2 separate regions of the Homo sapiens genome follow, and region 1 is linked to region 2. The links are contacts of gene promoters, found by promoter capture Hi-C in blood cells and fetal thymus (Javierre and others, 2016). All regions are on one chromosome and are shown on one strand. Each heading gives the region's core, a stretch centred on a gene start or on the middle of the fragment in contact. The rest is flanking DNA. Distances are from core to core; before and after follow the strand shown. Region 1 has its middle 47 kb from the start of CCDC32. Region 2 holds the start of ZFYVE19 (zinc finger FYVE-type containing 19).

Region 1 (7,474 bases), core at 2,241-4,740, 290 kb before region 2:
GTGGAGGCGTGTGCCTGAAATCCCAGCTACTTGGGAGGCTGAGGCACCAAGAATCGTTTGAACTGGGGAGGCGGAGGTTGCAGTGAGCTGAGATCCTGCCACTGCACTCTAGCCTGGGCAACAGAGCGAGACTCCATCTCAAAAAAAAAAACAAAAAACCCAACAAAACAAAAAACCACCATCTACTATCCCATCAGTTCATAAATAAAGACTTTCTAATTCCCAAAATATGGAAATGACATCATTTTAGATGAATATCCATTTGTTTAACTTTTTGTTTTAGAATAATTTCACACATAAAATTTGCTACAATAGTACGATGAACTCCTATATACTCTTCACCCAGATTCACCAGTTGCTAATGTTTTGCTATATTAGGTTTATGAGTTTCTTTTTTAAAAAAAAAATTTTTAAGACAGAGTCTCACTCTGTCACCCAGGCTGGAGTGCAGTGGCTCAATCTCGGCTCACTGCAACCTCTCTCTCCTGAGTTCAAGCAATTCTCCTGCTTCAGCCTCCCAAGTAGCTGAGATTACAGGTGTATGCCACCATACCCAGTTAATTTTTGTATTTTGAGTAGAAACATGGTTTCACCATGTTGGCCAAGCTGTTCTGGAACTCCTGACCTCAAATGATCCACCACCTCGGCCTCCAAAAGTGCAGGGATTACAGGCATGAGCTACTGTGCACAGCCTTGGTTTATGATTCTGTCTCTCTACATTCATACACACAGAGAAAGAGAACACGTGCACAAGACAGAATACTCCCTGTTTATATAAATTTCTTTACTGAATTATTTGAGAGTAAATTATAGACATTGCACCTCTTTACCCTGAAATACTTATGTACTATCACCAAAACCAGGAAACTTAACATCATTGATATAATATTATAATCTACATAATTGATTAAAATTTTGCCAATTATCCTAATAATGTCCCCTCTCCCTCCCCCTGCTGCTACTTCTCTCTCTTCTCCCCTTCTCCTCCTCCCCACCCTCCTTTTCTTCCTCCTTCTCTACACCCTCTTCCTCCTCTTTTTCTTTTCTTTTTCCTCTTCTAGGCATTGCTTTCTCTGGCCCAGGATCCATTCTAGGATCACACGTTGCTTTTGGTTGTCATGTCTCTTCAGTTTCCTTCAATCTGTTGACAGTTTCCTCAGGCTTTCTTTTGTCTTTCATGACATTGACATTTGTGTGTATGAAAAGTACAGGCCTGTTATTGAGTAGAAGGTCCCTCAGTTGGAGTTTGTCTGATGTTTGCTCATGGTTACACTCAAGTAATGCATTTTTGCCAAAATACCACAGAAATGATACGTCCTTTCTCATTGCATGACATCAGAAGGCATATGACATTGGTTTGTCCTATTTAAGAGATGTTAACTTTGCTCTCTTAGTTAAAAGGGTGGCCACCAGATTTCTCCACTGTCAAATTACCATTTTCCCCTTTGTAATTAGTAAATAATTTGTTAAGTGGATTAATAAGTCTTTTAAAGGAAATAAAATCTTCATTTTACGTCTTCCTAAATGAGTCTTTTTTTTTTTTTTTTTTTTTTGAGTTGGAGTCTCGCACTGTTGCCCGGGCTAGAGTGCGATGGCGTAATCTTGGCTCATTGCAACCTCTGCTTCCTGGGTTCATGCGATTCTCCTGCCTCAGCCTCCCAAGTAGCTGGGATTACAGGTGCACCCCACCACACCTGACTAATTTTTTGTACTTTTAGTAGTGATGGGGTTTCACTGTGTTGGCGAAACTGGTCTCGAACTCCTGACCTTGTGATCTGCCTGCCTCAGCCTCCCAAAGTGTTAGGATTACAGGCGTGAGCCACCCCACCCGGCCAATAAGTCTTTTAAAGGAAAAAAGGCTTTTTGAAAAATTCATAACATAATCCTTATTTTGGACTGACTCTTAAAAACCCTGGCACAAGAATGCAAGCAAATTACTCATTTATCTATCAAATCCTTGAGTACTGCATGTGCCAGGTACTGCTCCAGACCCTGCCTTCTCCATCTAACTCCCTCTTTAGTCATCCTGGACAGACTGGCCCCAGGCTTGGGTCCCCAAAGTCATTTCTTGAGCCGCTTGAAGGCAGGAGCTGATACAGAGACACAGTAGGTAGTGGTTCTGGAATCTAGTGTACCCACAGTGTAACAAGGAGACCTGCTCTCAACTCTATGGATACAGCAAGGCTCTTCTGTGATGAAAGAAATAATATTGCTGACATATGTGTTTATATTTTAATTAGCTTTCTCTGAGTTACACTGTAGTAACAAATAACCCAAAACTCTTAGTGGCTTACAGTAAGAAGGGTTTATTTCTTATGCACATTTTATGTCGGCTGTGGTCATTGGTGGTTCTGCTCTGTGTTGTCCTCTCCATTCTGGGATCTGGGCAGAAGATGTAGCCTCTATTTGAAATATGTAATCCTCATGGCAGAGGGAAAAGGAAAGTGATAGAAGTCTGCCATAGTTCTTAAACCTTCTGCAGGGAAAAGCATAGTCATTTCCACTTACATTTATTGGCCACCTCAAGTCGTGTGACCATGCCCGCCATTAATGGGACAGTGAAGTGTATTCCTCCTAAAAAGGAGTGCCGCAAGTCACATAGCAAAAGGAGAGGACGTATAATCACCTCACAGGAAAGGATAGAATAAATCAGAACCAATAATGCAACCAACTATGGTAGAATTCTTTTTTTTTTTTAATTGAAACAGAGTTTCACTCTTGTTGTCCAGGCTGGAGTGCAGTGGTGCGATCTCGGCTCACTGCAACCTCCGCCTCCCAGGTTCAAGCAATTCCCCTGCCCCTTCTGAGTAGCTAGGATTACAGGCGCCTGCCACCACGCCTGGCTAATTTTTTGTATTTTTAGTAGAGACGGGGTTTCACCATGTTGGCCACACTGGTCTGGAACTCCTGACCCCAGGTGATCCACCCGCCTCGGCATCCCAAAGTGCTGGGATAACAGGTGTGAGCCACCGCACCCAGCCGGTAGAATTATTTTATACAGGTTCTCTGCACCAACCTTCCAATTTACAGAAAACAGAGAGGGCCAGAGGAACAAGTTAAACAACACCATGAAGAAACACTCACTCAATCCAAAATGTGGAACATTCTGTAAGAAAGCTGGCCTGGAGTCTTCAAAAAGACAATGTTATAGAAAAAGAAAGAAGCGACTCTTCCAGCTTAAAGGATACAACAATTCATAAGCTTGGATTGAATCTGATTTTTAAAAATCTATAATTAGGGACAATTGGGTAAAATGTTATATAAACTAAATATTAGATGATATTAGAGAATTATTGTTAACTTTTTAGGCATGATAATGATTTTGTAGTTATGTAGGGGAATGTCCCTCTTTTAGGAGATACATGCAAATATATTCAGAGGTGAAGTGACATAACATTTGCAATTTACTTTCAAAAGGTTAAGCAAAAAAGTATTCATGGCTGGGCATGGTGGCTCATGCCTATAATCCCAGCACTTTGAGAGGCCGAGGTGGGCAGATCACCTGAGGTCGGGAGTTCAAGACCAGTCTGACCAACATGGAGAAACCCTGTCTCCACTAAAAATACAAAATCAGCTGGGCGTGGTGGCGCATGCCTGAAATCCCAGCTCCTCGGGAGGCTGAGGCAGGAGAATCATTTGAACCCAGGAGGCGGATGTTGTGGTGAGCCGAGATTGCGCCATTGCACTCCAGCCTGGGCAACAAGAGAGAAACTCCATCTCAAAATATATATATATATTTATAAAGAGAGAGAGCAAAGTTGTATAATGCCTAAAATGTTGAAGCTTGGTGGAGAGTGGAGGGGTGTTAATACTATTCCTTCAAATTTGCTGTTTTTAAAATTCGTAAAAATAAAAAAATAGGAGAAGTATATAGGTGTAGTTGTGATTAATAAAAATAAAGCGGCAGAGTGCAGTGGCCTCACACCTGTAATCCCAGCAGTTTGGGAGTCTGAGGCGGGGTGGATCACGAGGTCAGGAGTTTAATACCAGCCTGACCAACATGGTAAAACCCCGTCTCTATTAAAATCAGAAAAATTAGCCAGTCATGGTGGTGGGCGCCATTAATCCCACTACTCAGGAGGCTGAGGCAGGAGAATCCCTTGAACCCAGGAGGCGGAGGTTGCAGTGAGCCGAGACTGCACCATTGCACTCCAGCCTGGGCAACAGAGCGAGACTTGGTCTCAAAAAATAAATAAATAAATAAATAAAGCTCACTTTAAAATGTTTCTGAATTTATCTTAAACAAAGTAACATGAGGAGAAAAAGAAAAATTATTTTGAAAAAGAATAAAATGTTTCTGAACTTATAGTATTTTTTAAATCGTTATAATTTTCTCTATTGGTTTAATCTCCACTAACATATGAGGAGAAAGCCCTTAATTTTTATTTTATTTTATCTTAATTTTTTTAGAGACAGCGTCTCAGTCTGTCAACCAGGCTGGAGTGCAGTGCCACGATCATAGCTCACTGTAGCCTCAAACTCCCAGCACTGTGGGAGGCTGAGGCAGGAGGATCACTTGAGCCCACGAATTTGAAGCTGTAGTGAGCTATGATCACGCTACTGCACAAAGTGAGACCCCGTCTCAAAAAAATTAAAAATAAATAAATAAGGTAGAAAGCCTCCTAATTAAGCCTTTCTGGAAAGTCTTAACTAATATACTGTATTATATGAAACACCTTACAAACTTCATATCCACTTTGTCTTGGGAATTTAACTAAGAAAAGAACCGTGGATTTCTGTAAAGATTCAGCAACAAGGAAGTTCATCCCAGCATTATTTACTTCAGTGAAAAAAAAATGGGTATAATTTAAGTGTTCCAACAATAGTTGGTTAAATAAACTATGGCCCAGTCACCCAAAGAAAGGAATACAATACAGCCATCAAAAATTATGTTGTGGGCCGGGTGTGGTGGCTCATTCCTGTAATCCCAGCATTTTGGGAGGCTGAGGTGGGTGGATCATTTGAGGCCAGGAGTTTGAGACCAGCCTGAGCAACATGCGAAACCCCGTCTCTACAAAAAATACAAAAATTAACCAGGTGTGGTGGTACATGTCTGTAATCCCAGCTAACTCAGGAGGCTGAGGTGGGACGATTGCTTGAGCCCAGAAGGCTAAGGCTGCAGTGACCAGAGACTGCACCACTGCACTCCAGCCTAGGTAATAAAGCAAGACCATGTCTCCAAATAATAAAATAAAATAAAAGGTATTGCAGAACAACAAGTGAAAGATACTCATACAATGTATTTAACAAGTGGAAAGATACTCGTACAATATATTTAGTTTATGAAACAACAGTATGTACTGTATAATCCTGTTTTTGTTAAAAAAAGAAAAAAAACAGAAAAAAGACTGGAAGAATATACACTCAAGTGCCTAATATCTTGGTTATCTCTGGAGGTTGGATTTACAGATAATTTTTATTATTTTATTTTTCCTTATATCTACTTTAAAAATGTTATAAAGTGAATGTGAATTACTTTTAAATTAAGAAAAAAACATAAAAATGATATTTGAAGGAAGGCTACTGAATTGCCAAATATTTTCTTCTGAAGAACATGAAGGAGCCCCCTTGTGGGTCCCTGGACCCTTAATCAGAGCTGAGACCAACCCAAGCCGCAAGGTGGCAGTGCTGTTCGCTGAGGCTGCCCTTGGGCTGAGCACTCTTGGGCCACACCCGTGAGAGTGCCCCCTCCCCCAGTTTCCCTTTTACCCCAACACACATGGGCACCCCCTGAAAGAAGAGACAACTTGGTGTGCACAGCTGCTCTGCCCATCTTTGCACCTAAGTCCAGGGTGACAGGGGAGTGGAGACGACAAATCAAGAATGTCCTTTCCTTGGAGGAAACTGGGAGGCTTCCCCCAACAACCATTGTCTCTGAATGTGGCTCCAGCTGCCAGATTGTGTGTGCGTGTGTGTGTGTGTGTGTGTGTGTGTGTGTGTGTGTGTGTGTGTGTATTCTGCATGTTTTGCTTATTGTATCGTTTTTCTTGGATGTTGTGTATTTGTTTTAATGTTTAGAACTTGTTCTTTTATTTCAGAACAATATGAACAGAACACAATGTTGAAGAAAATACATTTACTTTGTACCCAATTCTATGCATATTTTCTTCTGCTTTCCAGTCCACACGTTGTTCATCATATTGGAAATCCTCTCTACACCTGCTTTGAAGCAGGATCAATGCACTATACTGATATAATTTCAGCAAATAACTACTGACATGAATTCATAAATGGCATCATTTTGCATTCTGCTCTGTAGGCTTATAATAAAAGTACTTCGTCTACAAAGCAATAATGCAACTTTATTTATAAAATCATTTTCCAATTAAGAAAATTTTCAATGGTTTATAAAAGTGGACATTTGCACAATCTTTTTCATAATTCATGAAATTGTTTAAAGTGTAAAATTCAGTATTTTTTAGTATATTCACAGAATTCTGCAACATCACCAGAATAAATTTTAGAATATAATTGAATCTTGAACAACGTGGAGGTTAGGGGTGCCAGCCTCCCTGCAGCTAAAAATCCATGTATAACTTTTGACTCCCCCAGAGCTTAACTACTAATAGCCTTCTGTTTACCTGAAGCCTTAGTGATAACATAAACAGTTGATTAACGCATATTTTGTCTGCTATATGTATTATACTCTTACAATAAAGTAAGCTAGAGAAAAGGAATGCTATCAGGAAACTCATAAGAAAGAAAAAACTATGTTTACTATTCATTAAGTGGAAGTGGATCATCATAAAGATCTTCATCCTTGTCATCTTCGCGTCGAGTAGGCTGAGGAGGAGGAGGAAAACGGGTTGGTCTTGCTGTCTTGGGGTGGCACAGTCAGAAGAAACTTTGTCTATCAGTGGACCAGTGCAGTTCAAACCTGTGTTGTTCAAGAGTCAACTGTATTTTCATCACCCCCGAAAAAGAAACCCTATATCCATTAGCAGTCACTCCTCATTTCCCCTATATATTTGCATATTCTAGACATTGCATATAGATGGGATTATACAACGCGTGTCTTTTGTGACACTTTTCTCACTTGGCATAACGTTTTCAAGGTTCATCCACGTTGTAGCATGTATCAGTACTTCATTCCTTTGTAGTGCCAAATAATATTCCATTGTATGGAATTTTATTTATCCATCCATCAATGGATGGATATTTGGGTTATTTCCACTTTGGGCTACTATGAATAATGCTGCTATGAATATTCATATACACGTTTTTGTGTGGGATATACCTAGGAGTGAAATTGCTGCATCATATGACTGTTTTCCAAAGTGGATGCACCACTGTACGTTCCCACTAACAATGTATGAGGGTTCCAGTTTCTCTACATCCTCGCAGACTCTTGTTATTGTCTATCTTTTTGATAATAGCCATCCTAATGAGTGTTAAGTGGTATCTCATTGTAGTTTTGATTTGCCTTTCCATGATGGCTAGTGGCCATTTCTGTATCTTCTTTGGAGCTATGTCT
Region 2 (7,405 bases), core at 2,837-5,336:
TGAGGTGGGAGGATTGCTTGAGCCCAGGAGGCAGAGTTTGCAGTGAGCAGTAATCATGCCACTGACTCCAGCGTGGGTAACACAGAGAGACCCTGGGTCAAAAAAAAAAAAAAGAAAAAAAAAGTCCTCCTCTCCTCCAGAATAAATACAAAAAAAAAAAAAATCACGCATGATTTTCAGAGGTTCCTTCACCCAGTTCCTGGAGCCTTTCTGTAGAGGGCAAATTGAGAACTCCTAGGCTATTTGGACAACCAGTTTAGGAGTTCTTCCTTGTATACACTTTAAATATTTGTTTGTCCTCTAGGTTGCCCTATGGCAGCAACCTAGGTTGTCTATGACAGGTATTAAACCATGGTGCGGGGACACCAGGGCCTAGGTTTTTCTTGCTTTCTACCAAAAAGTGTGTTGCCATGAAGCTAGCCAGTGTATCCAAAGTGTAAATGGGAGTAAGTGCTAGAAAGGAGAATGGCTGCTATGAAAAGAAAAATAGGTAAGGCCTCTTTGAGGGTGCCACCTACTTATGCTCCAAAATAGACTGTATGTATTAATATATACATTTGCTTTCTTGGAATGCCCTGCCTCCATCTCCACATGTCCAAACTCTGCCCATTCTTCAAGGCCCCAAATACCTTCTCTCCTGCCTTTATTCCTTCTCTCAAACTAATAGCAATCTCAGCCTACACTGAACATCCACAGCACTTTGTACCCCTCTTAAGGAACTCACCATGTCTCCCTTGTATGCGTGAATCTTGCCCCCCCATTAAAGGCAGGAGCAGCACCTGTTACCCTTTATAGAGTGGCTTCACACCTATCCCTTATCTCATCTGAGTTAGAACTGGATCCCAGCCACCACTGCCCAGCTCAGACCTTGGTCTCTTGCCTAGACACCAGCCCCATCTGACCCCCTAGTGGCAGCTCTTCCATTCCTCCCACCCCCACCCATTTTCATTATGCACACTAGTGTTGAATTTTCTTTTCTTTTTTAAGAGTGGCAGGGTCTCACCCTGTCATCCAGGCTGGAATACAGTGGCAAAATCATAGCTCACTGAAACTTCCCAGGCTCAAGTGATCCTCCCACCTCAGCCTCCCATGTAGCGGGGACTACAGGTGCGTAACACCCTGCCCAGCTTTTTTTTTTATATATAGAGAGAGAGACAGGCTCTCACTACGTTTCCCAGGCTGGTCTCAAACTCCTGGCCTCAAGCGTTCCTTCCACCTTGGCCTCCCAAAGTGCTGGGATTGCAGGTGTGAGCCATCACACTCAGTCAAATACTTTCTTTAAAATCCAATTATGGGCAGGGCACAGTGGCTCATGCCTGCAATCCCAGCACTCTGGGAGACCAGGCAGGAGGATAGCTTGAACCCAGGAGTTCGACACCAGCCTGGGCAATATAGCTGGACCCCGTCTCTGGAAAAAAAAAAAAAGCAAAAACAAACACAAAACAAATTAGCCAGGCATGATGATGCACACCTGCAGTCCCAACTACATGAGAGGCTGAGGTGGGATCACTTGAGCCCAGGAAGTCGAGGCTGCAGTGAGCTGTGATTGTGCCACTGCATTCCAGCCTGAATGACAGTGAGATCTTTTCTCAAAAAATAGACATAAAAATAAAAAAAAAATAAAATCTGATTATGTAACTTCTCTAATTAATAGAGAATGACTTCCAACTGACTTCCTCAGGAGTTCTCAACTTCAGGGTTAGAAACTCTAGATTTCAGCCGGGCGCGGTGGCTCACGCCTGTAATCCCAGCACTTTGGGAGGCCAAGGCCGGCAGATCACTTGAGGTCAGGAGTTCAAGACCAGCCTGACCAACATGGTGAAACCCTGTCTCTGATAAAAACACAAAAATTAGCTGGGTGTGGTGGCACATGCCTGTAATCCCAGCTGCTCAGGAGGCTGAGGCAGGAGAATTCCCTGAACCTGGGGGGCAGAGGTTGCAGTGAGCCAAGGTTGCACCACTGCACTCCAGCCTAGGCAAGAGAGTGAGACTCCGTCTCAAAAAAAAACCCTCCAGATTTCCCACTTGGATCTTTTGTGAAATGTCTCAAATAGTTTCTCACTATTAATAAAGTACTAATTAAATAATTTGCAGGCAGGGCATAGTGGCTCACACCTGTAATCCCAGCACTTTGGGAGGCCGAGGTGGGAAGATCACGAGGTCAGGAATCCAAGACTGGCCTGGCCAACACGGTGAGACCCCGTCTCTACTAAAAATACAAAAATTAGCTGGGCGTGGTGGCGGGTGCCTGTAATCCCAGCTACTTGGGAGGCTGAGGCAGGAGAATCACTTGAAACAGGAAGGCGGAGGTTGCAGTGAGCCGAGATCATGCCACTGCACTCCAGCCTGGGCCAAAGAGTGATACTCTGTCTCAAAAAAAAAAAAAAAAAAAAAATTAGCCGGGCGTGGTGGTACATGCCTGTAGTCCCAGCTACTCCGGAGGCTGAGGCAGGAGAATCGCTTGAACCTGGGAGGCAGAAGTTGCAGTAAGCTGAGATTGCGCCACTGCACTCCAGCCTGGGCGACAGAGCGAGACTCCGTCTCAAAAAATAATAATAGGCCGGGCACGGTGGCTCACGCTTGTAATCCCAGCACTTTGGGAGGCTGAGGTGGGCAGATCACGAGGTCAGGAGATCGAGACCACGGTGAAACCCCGTCTCTACTAAAAATAAAAATTATTAGCCGGGCATGGTGGCAGGCGCCTGTAGTCCCAGCTACTTGGAGAGGCTCAGGCAGGAGAATGGCGTGAACCCGAGAGGCGGAGGTTGCAGTAAGCCGAGATCGCGCCACTGCACTCCAGCCTGGGCCACAGAGCGAGACTCCGTCTCAAAAACAATAATAAAAAATAATAATAATAAAGAATTTAAAAAATAATAATTTGTAAACATAGAGCACTTAGAATACTATCCAGAAAAAAAAAATACTGTCTAGGACATAGTAAGCATTATACAGATGTTAGGAATTATTAATCCTAAAATATTGAAACACGAGAGAGGTGGAGCAGATGCTTTTGATGCTTCATAGACATCCCATGGCCATTTCTGATTTCAGCTGCGGCTGCAGGGGACAGATTTGTGCAGGTTGACAGCATTTCTCAAGGGCCCTCTGGGTCTCTCTGATTTTCTGCCCCAGAGCTTCCTCTTCTCAAAAGCTCACTCACCCCATGAGCAGGGCAGCCCAGAAGTACTGGGACATTAGTGGGCACTATTTTTTTTTCCTTTTTTTTTTTTTTTTTTGAGACAGTCTCGCTCTGTCGCCCAGACTGGAGTGCAGTGGTGCAATCTCAGCTCACTGCAACCTCCGCCTCCCGGGTTCCAGTGATTCTCCTGCCTCAGCCTCCCAAGTAGCTGGGACTACAGGTGTGTGCCACCACGCCCGGCTAATTTTTGTATTTTTAGTAGAGAAGGGGTTTCAGCATATTGGTCAGGCTGGTCTCGAACTTCTGACCACATGATCCGCCCGCCTCGGCCTCCCAAAGTGCTGAGATTACAGGCGTGAGCCACCGCGCCCGGCCTAGTAGACACTAATTTTCTTTCTTTCTTTCTTTTTTTGAGAAAGAGTCTTGCTCTGTCGCCCAGGATGGAGTGCAGTGGCGCGATCTCGGCTCAGTTGGGCACTAATTTTCATTTGATGAACGCCTCTCCTTCGTATATTGTTAAAACTACCACCATGATCCAGGGGGAGATAAAAGAAATCCTAAATCCAGCTTGATCAGTGTTTCACTCCCTGGCATCTTTATCACCACCTAAGGTAGCATGGACCTCTATACCATCTGCCTTAACCTTCTGATCCTCCTGCTTTTAGCCCACTAACTAGCACATGCTGAGAAGGGCATCAGCTACTTGAAAAGAGTCAATGGGCTTGAGTGGAAAAGAAAATAGAGACAGCAGGGTCATCGGTCACATTGGCAAGGGGGCATGAAAAGGGAGTGGAGAGGCTTTGAGATCTTACTTTTCTTTCGTTCTAGGCTCTTAGTGGAAGAATTAAATCAGCCTGCAGAAGAGACTGAAATGAGGCACCTCTTGTCACAGTCAAGGCAGAAGCGGAAACGGAGGCCGAGACTGCGCAGGCGCAGAGGAGGCTAGCGTTCCTTGCTGCCTCGCCCCGCGGCCTCTAGGAGACAGGGGCCACGGGGAGAGCACAGCCACCCGGCGCGAAGAGCCCTCTGTACCCCGCTTCCTCTTGAGGCCCTCGGACCGTCCAGGAAATGTCTGGGAGCCCGCCTGCGGAGGGCATAGCGCCGACCCTCGCTCCCCGCCCAGGACCCGAATGAACCTGGAGAGCGGATGCCAGCAGTGGCCGAGGCGCTAGGACAGGAAGGACCGCCAGACCTCTCAAGATCAGCCTTCCTCGCCACCGTTCTCACCTCTTTGTCCGCTGCCTTCTCCTCAATGCCTAGCAGCGCGTACAGGTCCATCTGTAAGAGCTCCTTGGTCACTGCCATGGTTCCGGCCTGACGGATTCGTACTACAACTCCCAAGAGTCTAAGCGCGCGTGAGGACTGCAGGCTCCGAGCGGCGCCTAGCCCTCTGGGAATTGTGTTCTGGGTCAGGCTTGACTGACTCTGAGGGAGGCCGGCAGTCGTGAATGAACTACGACTCCCAGCAGCCCCCGTTGCCGCCGCTGCCGTACGCTGGCTGCAGGAGAGCGTCCGGATTCCCTGCTCTAGGTCGCGGCGGGACAGTGCCAGTGGGCGTGTGGGGCGGGGCAGGGCAGGGAAGGGAAGGGCGGAGCTGGGGTGAGGGTCCAAGGGGCCCAGGACTTGGCCGGCGTGATCTCAGCTCTGCAGACCCTGCGGTGCTGGGAGCCACCATGGAGAGTAGGTGCTACGGCTGCGCTGTCAAGTTCACCCTCTTCAAGAAGGAGGCGAGTCTTCCCTCCCCGAGGGCTGCAGGGCCAGGGAGGAGAGGAGGGAAAAGCGCGGGACTTAACGTCCAAAGACTTGGTCTTACGGCTCCTTTCCAGCTGTGTGGTTTTGATGAAGTCATTGATCCTCAGTTTCCATTTCTGTAAAATGGGGCTAACATTCTCTCGCTTTCAGGGTTTATGTGAGGGTCCACTGAAGTGCTTTAGGTGAGAGTTCCCTATAAACTGTAAAGCGCGCTGCCGTCGTTTTTGCAAAGCTACTCTTTTCTGTCGGCCCAGTGTAGCATCTGGCGGTTTTCTTCTCTCCACCCTGCTCCTCCGAAGCGCGGTGTCCATCACACCAAGCCCGTTACTCCCTCTGCTCTGAAATCTTCCCCATCCCGCAGCCTGCCCTTCTCCAGGTCGCTGGAGTTAGATTACCACACTTCCTCCTGCTTCCGGGGCACCATGGTGAAGGCTGACTGTCCTGTCCCTATCACAGACCTGCCAGATTCCTCTGGTAAACTGCAGGTTCCCTCTGCCTCAGTTGTGGCCAGGGATTCTGACCAGGAGATGATGGGAACTAGATGGAGTAAATTAGTGTCACGCAGGAAGGCAGGACCGTGCAGCATTCACCAACCTGGATTTTGGAGTCAGCGTTCAAATCTGAGCTCTGCTGTCTTATTGAGGCGGTGACCTTGGTTTGGATAAGTTATGTAACCTCTCTGGCCCTCTCAAAATAAGGATAATCACGGTTGGCATCAAGATTAAGTAAAATAATGTGTGTAAATTGTAAGGAATAAATCACATGATGAATGTTAAGTACTGGGTTTAGTGCCTGGCACATAGTAAGTGCTTAATAAATGGAGGCTATTGTTAGCCCATCCTGAGCCAAGCCTCCCTCCATCTCTGCAAGAGCAGAGGAGGCATCGGCTCTGCCCTGTCTCTCTGATTCTCCTTTGTGGAAGAGTCAGTGGCCTGAAATACTGGGCTTTATCTATCTGTCTTCTACATCCCTGGGTCAGGGAATTGAAGACAGGGTAGAAAGCATGGGAATTTTGTATAAACCTTCATTTGGCTTGAATAAGGTACTGGAAACCGAGGAATTGCTTTACTCACCATCCCTAGGCCTTAGGGGCCCCACTCCTCTTCTTCCTCCCAGCAGCTGGTCATAACTTCAGTGACTTCTCTCTGTGTGTGCTTGGAGAGTCCCTGGGAGCAGCCTGCAGGGGCGGGTGAGAGGGGGATCTCCCGCTTCATGTTTCTTGTAGTACGGCTGTAAGAATTGTGGCAGGGCCTTCTGTTCAGGCTGCCTAAGCTTCAGTGCAGCAGTGCCTCGGACTGGGAACACCCAACAGAAAGTCTGCAAGCAATGCCATGAGGTCCTGACCAGGTAAGAGGCAGGCATGGGTGAAAGTTCAGCCAAGTATGGCAGTGGGCATCTGGCCAGCCCTCACAGCTTTGTACTCTGTCGCGAGAGTCAGCCGAGGAAGTGTTTGGAGTGGGGGGCACTGCCTGGTGGGATGGCAGGATTTATAACACTAGATTTCTTCTCTGTAGAGGGTCTTCTGCCAATGCCTCCAAGTGGTCACCACCTCAGAACTATAAGAAGTAAGTGCTGAAGAGAAAAAGACAAAGAGCATTGGGGAAAGGATAAGGGAGCCATAGGGAAAGACCCTGCCCCCATCTTCTAGATAAAATGAGCACAGAATCAGGAGAATTCTCTCCTCTCTGGCTCCTGACTGCCCTCTTGGGCTGGTAAAGCAGCTCTTCAGCCCTCTCTCCAGGACAGGCACTTGGTAGAGCTTGTCCTTTCAGCTGGACCGTCTGGCTGGTCAGCCAGGTTGGGCTGCAGGGTGACATGAGTGAGGGGCACAGCAGATTGCCCATTGGAGGCCTCCCTAAGTGCCCAGAAATGATTTGATTTGAATGGGAAACAGTGAGTGGGTGCCTTCACTCTTCCCCTCTGCCTTCTTCAAGAGCCTCTATCTCATATCCTGCCAGGCGTGTGGCAGCCTTGGAAGCCAAGCAAAAGCCCAGCACTTCCCAGAGCCAGGGACTGACACGACAAGACCAGATGATTGCTGAGCGCCTAGCACGACTCCGCCAGGAGAACAAGCCCAGTGAGCAGGGGCAGATGGGGTTGCCTAGAGGACACAGTCCAGGGCTTCTGGGACTGAGATGCCTCTGGCCCTTACAAGGCTCCCCCCATGCCAATTGCAGAGTTAGTCCCCTCACAGGCAGAGATAGAGGCACGGCTGGCTGCCCTAAAGGATGAACGTCAGGGTTCCATCCCTTCCACCCAGGAAATGGAGGCACGACTTGCAGCGTTGCAGGGCAGAGTTCTACCTTCTCAAACCCCCCAGCCGGTGAGTGTTATGGCTTAGGAGAGAAGCGGGGGTGCTAGCGGGAGGACCCAGCAGAAGCCCAGATACAGGTATTGGGGTGATACAAAAGTAATTGTGGTTTTTGTCATTACTTTTAATTGCAAAAACCTCAGTTACTTTTGCACCAACCTTTGTACTTTATGTACTTTGCAGGAGTTGGCAAAGCCTCCCAC

Evidence for each region. Contacts are between HindIII fragments. The CHiCAGO score rates a contact against its expected background, and 5 or more counts as called.
Region 1: a contact is called between a fragment that was not itself captured here and the fragment with the promoter of ZFYVE19 in region 2, in 2 of 17 cell types (naive B cells and total B cells). The highest score is 6.0, in naive B cells.

Annotation. Positions count from the first base shown.
Region 1 is chr15:40,514,299-40,521,772 of GRCh38, forward strand. It overlaps a transcript of CCDC32 not described here. Among named protein-coding and RNA genes, the nearest start is that of CCDC32, 47 kb to the right of the region's middle. RefSeq lists enhancers at 5,492-5,786, 5,841-5,950. The HindIII fragment of the contact is 582 bases long and covers 3,200-3,781 here.
Region 2 is chr15:40,803,003-40,810,407 of GRCh38, forward strand. It overlaps ZFYVE19 (zinc finger FYVE-type containing 19), which reads left to right and starts at 4,087. Exons shown (of 11, transcript NM_001077268.2): 1 at 4,087-4,866; 2 at 6,117-6,238; 3 at 6,406-6,456; 4 at 6,850-6,968; 5 at 7,069-7,214. The coding sequence starts at 4,588. It overlaps DNAJC17 (DnaJ heat shock protein family (Hsp40) member C17), which reads right to left and starts at 4,471. Exons shown (of 11, transcript NM_018163.3): 1 at 4,367-4,471. The coding sequence starts at 4,444. RefSeq lists enhancers at 3,750-3,839, 4,300-4,349, 4,390-4,439, 5,070-5,119. The HindIII fragment of the contact is 13,093 bases long and covers 1-6,161 here.